2 separate regions of the Homo sapiens genome follow, and region 2 is linked to region 1. Evidence: promoter capture Hi-C in human tissues and cell types (Jung and others, 2019). All regions are on one chromosome and are shown on one strand. Each heading gives the region's core, a stretch centred on a gene start or on the middle of the fragment in contact. The rest is flanking DNA. Distances are from core to core; before and after follow the strand shown.

The links. The method cuts DNA at HindIII sites, captures the fragments that hold promoters and counts their contacts. A contact is called where the count stands out against the background at its distance.
Region 2: a fragment that was not itself captured here is called in contact with the fragment with the promoter of DSCC1 in region 1 in 1 of the 25 tissues and cell types used here (liver).

What each region holds. Positions count from the first base shown.
Region 1 is chr8:119,854,480-119,857,329 of GRCh38, forward strand. DSCC1 (DNA replication and sister chromatid cohesion 1) reads right to left here and starts at 1,415. Exons shown (of 9, transcript NM_024094.3): 1 at 1,135-1,415. The coding sequence starts at 1,316. It overlaps LOC105375728 (a long non-coding RNA gene), which reads left to right. Exons shown (of 4, transcript XR_928590.3): 2 at 196-323; 3 at 927-1,400. RefSeq lists an enhancer at 1,087-1,396 and a silencer at 1,507-1,566. The HindIII fragment of the contact is 8,457 bases long and covers 1-2,850 here.
Region 2 is chr8:119,819,213-119,822,056 of GRCh38, forward strand. It overlaps TAF2 (TATA-box binding protein associated factor 2), which reads right to left. Exons shown (of 26, transcript NM_003184.4): 3 at 134-294. Among named protein-coding and RNA genes, the nearest start is that of TAF2, 12 kb to the right of the region's middle. The HindIII fragment of the contact is 5,556 bases long and covers 1-2,844 here.

The sequences.
Region 1 (2,850 bases), core at 165-2,664:
TTTTTTAGATTCCTAATGCTAATAATGCTTAATAGGCCCAAGTACCTAGTCTTTAACATTTATTTCTCTAACTGCACTACCCCCACTTTGAAATATTTTGTTTATACCATCACTCCCTACACCCCAAAATTAAAAACACACGTTTCCAGGGCCTGTTTTTATTTTTTTGTTTTTGTTTTGTTTTGTTTTTGCCAGCTAGATTAACTAGAACTGGACCGAGAGAAAGTCCTCACACCTGAGTTCCTTTCTCAACTCTCCACCAACTGAACCGGGATGGAAACAGACTAGTGAAGTTCTTTCAGTTCCCTTAAAGGTACTTTGAGGTATATAGCAGGTATCTGAAGAATGGCCAGTTTACTCTAACACTCTTTGGTGGGCAAAGTACGAAAACTGAAAGACAGCCTAAAGGATTCCATTAAGAAAAAAGAGAAAAAATAGCCTAATAAAATATAGGTGTCGGAGGACCAATTGTGCAAAAGAGAATCAAGCTGGAGCTCCCTATTTTGCAGGAGCTGGGGCTGCACAGGGTGGAGGGATATAACGATTCTCTAGACTTCTCAAGACTGCCTTTAAAAAACTACCTCAACTTCGACTTCTAATCAATGATCTTGCAGCAAGTTTGTATCTGACCTGGAATTAGAAACAGCTTCAGATCCCTACTAAGCAAGTTTGCTTCGGGGTGGGTAGGGGTCTCACCCAATTACCAAGTCTGTAAGCTGATTCCCAGCACTTCCTATCTATCATCTGAGTAAAATAAATATAAGTGGAAGGCAAGAGTTCTATAAACATTGGGTATCACCACTGTATTTTAAGGTAGAGTGACAGGTGTCCTGTAGAGTCCCTGTAATCACCGGTAACTCTTCAAAAACTTCACGGAGGTTGTATTAGTATTTCCTGACTTGCTCCCGCTGACACATGCCTCCAAGGTCAGCTGGACCAGTGCTACTCATCACCGCAGTGCAGCTAACTGGACGGCCCACCGGAGGCGTGGACTCCTCGGGAACAGGCAGCTTGCTATGAGCCCCCGGCCAGGTCAGTGCATCTCTCTGGCCCTGTTTTCTTATCCCGACTTTCCCCGCTGAGAAAATAACGTGGCCGGCCAGAGGCTGGGGGCGCCGCGTGACCAGGGCTCACCTGTGTCCATCCTCCAGCTGCTGGCACAGCGTGGGCTCCAGCTCCAGCAGGCAGAAGTCGCCGGCTGCAGCGCCGCTGGCCCCAGGGCCGAAGCCCAGGCAGTGCACCGCCGGCAGCAGCTCGGCCGCATTCAGCTTGGCGATCTGCAGCGTCGCATCCACCTCGTCGCGGGTCCTCTTCATCGCAGCGCCGGGTCTAGGAGTCCCGCCGCGCCCGGGTGGCTGCGGGCTTGGCGGGCAAGAAAGAAGTTCCCAAGCAGCCGGAAGGTAGGAAACCTGAGCGTTTGAAAGCGCGCCAAGGCGGCCATGGGCGTGTTTCCGGGGCGGAGCGCGCTGCGGGCCCGCCCGCGGGAAGGCCTGCCGGCTTCTGGGAGCGCGAGCCCCTCCGTGCCCCACGCCGGACCGCGACTGCAGGAAGGAAACGCGGCTTCCCGGGGGGCGGTCTCGGCGGAAGCTCGCAGGGGCAGAGCTGCGACTCGGCGGGTTGGGACACGGATCCCTCGCCCACCCTTTCCGCTGTCCCCTTGCCCGCCCCCCATCCCCGATCTCCGTCCCTGGTTTCCAGCCGATGCTCCCATTTCCTCGCCGTCCACATTGTCTCACCTTCCGCCAGTGGCGGGCCCTGTGATAACCACTTGGCATGTATAATTCCATGAGCCCGTTGCCACAACCCTGTAAGGTGGTGCCTTGGTCATTCCCTTTTGCCAATGAGGAAGCAGGCTCCTTGCTCGTGATGGCAGAGTCAGGAGGTAACAGAGTCTGACTCCAGCCTAGCCGACTGTGGCTCTAAAAGCTTCCTGCGGGGTTTTGTGCAAATAACCCATGCTCGGGAGCGAGGCCCTGGGAAGGAGTATCTCGCTTCTTTGGGTCAGGGCACCATCATATCTGGAGACAACGGCGGGACTAGTCTATTCGTTGAATACCTAGTGTTAACCGAAAAGTGACTGATGCAGGTCTCGTTCAATAGAGGTTTATTTAAGCAAGGTTGAGGACGCACCCGAAGGGAAAAACAAGTCACAGGAGCATCTGTGACTTGTACATTTTCCAAAGGTTTGGGGAACTTCAGTATTAAGAGTTTTAAGAGAAAAGGTTTTCACTATGCACACATACATGAATTGCTTGTAACAGCGTAATGTGTAAACTTTCCCAGAGATGCTTAGGGAATCGTTGAGGGCCCTGGCTGTCCCTGAGAGCTAAAATAGTCTGGGAGGAATCACTTAAGAGATGGTGACCTCCTACTAGTTAGTGCAAATCAGACCTTGCTTGAAGTGAAAGAAAGTGGTGGGTAAGGTGTTGAATTCAAAGGATCTGAGCAGACATTTTTTTCAATTCTTGGGTAAAATGATACGAAAATACCAGAGTAGGGCATCCCAGGAGTCTGGGCAGTGCTTTCGTTGGTGGTGGAAAGATTGGTTCATGTGACCTACTTCTTCACTAGCCTCTTTTACATTTGAATGCATAGGAATTCGGTGGAATGAAATCCTGAATGTGACAGTGGTTGCCTGATAAGAAGTTATTATTGAAGGGAATCAACCATTGTAGTTGCTCTATTAAATGGGAAACATTCCCTACAACTAGAAGCAGTGTCAACTAGAACCCTGACATTTACATCAGACAGGCATGGCTGCGAATCCCAACTCTCTTCAGAACTTTGTGACCTAAGGCAATTTACCTAATTTCTCTGAGTACAACTTCCTTATCGATAAAAAAGCACATA
Region 2 (2,844 bases), core at 198-2,697, 35 kb before region 1:
AAACAGATAAAGATTGGGATTCAAAGCCCATTAACGATCCAAAAAAAAAATACTTTGAGAAAAACTAATCCAATCATTAAAAACATTTTTTCAAAACTGTTAAAAATAGTGACTTTTAAAGTGCATAACTTACTGTTTTGATTCACTGTGACAAACTTCCAAGGTTGGGTCATTATAAATAAAAGCAGCCTCTAAATCATTGATCCTTACTCGGTATATTCTACACTGTTTGCTGTTCAACTTGATTCTATTCAAGTTTGCAACTGTGGGAAATATAGTCAGTTCCACAAATCCCTGTAAAGATAGAGAATAACAACTTCATTATAAAGACTGGTATGTTTCAGAATATATTTCTTTTATTTTTACCACTTGTACACATATTATACTACAGAGACAAAATCCCTAATAGCTACATACATACATATGCTCTCCAAGTATCTTAATTTCAAACATGATTGTCCTAGTGACTGAATGGGTGTGAGTTATGTATACTTTATCATCCTGGTGGTTCATATTCACTATCAGTGAAAATTAGGCAGTCAGAAAAAAGTAAAAGGGCTCACTACTCTCAAAAACCAGAATTTCTAAACAGACTAGGCCCTAAAAAGGGAAGAAGAAAAAAATTACAGAGCAGAAAGGGAATCAAAATCAGAAGGGTGATGAGTGAAAGAACATGGCAGAAAAAAAAAGGGGTAAAAAATTATACCACTGAAGCTAACAAGTATGAGTTTCTGCTCATGAGTAAATTAGGACAGGTAAAACAGCAAGAGCTACAAAAGATACCAAGGCAAGTAGGAAAAATCTGCTGCCATATCCAGGAGCAGCAAATACATCACAGTGTTCAATCACTTCCTGTCAAGTAGTCCAGAGGCCATATGTAGTTCTACCATGTTAGCTGTATGGTAGCAATGTCTCTGTATCCAACACATGAAAAACAGTTAAATACAGACTGCCCACCACCCTCTTGTATTGAATCAATGGGAAAGACGAACAGATGAAACACAGAATATATGTTAATTGATTTTAATATCCTGGGTTGAAAATTGATGTACTCAAACATAAAACAAGGGACAGCATGAAATAGCAATATTTCAGGACTCCAACGTGAAGAGAAAAATTTCAGAGGCTATAACAGAAATATCTAAGACAAAATTCAGACAGCAACCACAGAGGACTAGATTATAATGGCTGCTACCAGGTACCAGACATTACACTAGATACTTTCCTATGTTCCCTCTAATCCTAATACCAACTCTAAGAGACAAGTACTACTTTATACTTTCTACAGAGAAGCTACAAATACTACTGTACAGTATTAAAAAGTTAACTTTTTACAGATAAGATAAGAAAGGCAAAAAAAGTAGGTCAGTAATAAGTAGAGACTAGAGATTCAAACACAACTAAATAATTCCAAACAATTCCCACTATGCCATAATGCCTGTGGGTACAAGGGTTTTAAATGATATGCAAGAATTGTTTTTAGGTAACATTTAGTCCAACCGCTCAAGAAAGCCTAGAGATTCTGTAGCCCCTTTGTTCTCAATTCCCAAGTAAGAGGAGAGCCATACACTTAAATTAGAACAATCAGCACATATCTGTGAGCTAGAAACACAGAGAACAAAAGAACAAAGGCCAAAATAAAGTTGATAAAGATTCTGTGTTTAAAGGTGTAAACTATGAGCTGCTGTAGGAAGGAAGACCAGAATTCCTTTTAATTAGCATATCTGTCATCCAATGACCATTCTAAATTTAAATGAGCTTGGATCAGCTGAAAGATAAGATTTAGAACCAAGACAACTACAAAACAAAAGATTAAAGAAGTACTGTCAACTGCTACTTGGGTGGGACATAAGAACAGCATCTGGTTTTCTAAACTCTGGTAACAATAATAGAATGATGAAATGTATTTCAGGAAGATAGGAAAAGCCCAGTCTCCTTGTACCATCAGGCCTCTGCCACCACCTAGGGCTCTAACCTACAGCTGCCTGAAACATTCGGACCCATTAACCTCTACAAGTCTTCAATCTCTGCTGCCCTTAGCCACTGGCATAACTGCAAGCCTCTCGGGTCATCTAGCTTCTCACTCCTTGCTTCTTGCTCTCTCCCCACCACTTCACAGATAACCATTCTCCTGGAGCCCACACTCCATTTTAAACATTTCCCCTGTGCTTTTCAACCTTTTCTAAAACTCCCTCTCTACCCTCTTGCCTTAAATGAAATGGTTCCTGAATCCTCCTAGACAAGAAGCTACTTACTCTCCCATTCACTATAAACGAGGGTAGTGGAAAATAGGCATTCTCCTAGTTTCCACGACTACTTCTGGGTCACTTATAGGATTTTATTTACTGTACACTACAAGGTTAAGGACAGTGTAGTGTCACCGTGAAAAGCAGGTGTTCTGGAGGTAGACTCCCTGTATTCAAATCCTAGCTCTACCACTTAGTAACTGTATGATATTGAGCTAGTAACTCCAGCCCACTGTGCCTCAGTTTCCTCATAAAAAATGACATTATTGGCCTATTAGTGTTATTATGACAACCGAACAGCCAGGCATGGGCTCACGCCTGTAATCCTAGCACTTTGGGAGGCTGAGGCAGGAGGACTGCTTGAGTCCCGGAGTTCAGAACCAGCCTGGTCAACATAGCAAGACCCTATCTGTACATAAACTATTAAAAAATTAGCCAGGCATGGTGGCTGTAGTTCCAGTTACTGGGGAGGCTGAGGTGGAATGATTGCTTGAGCCTGGGAGGTTGAGGCTGCAGCGAGTCATGATTGTGACACGGGTGACAGAGCAAGATCACATCTCAAAAAACAAAGACAACTGAAAAACTTACATGGAAAACA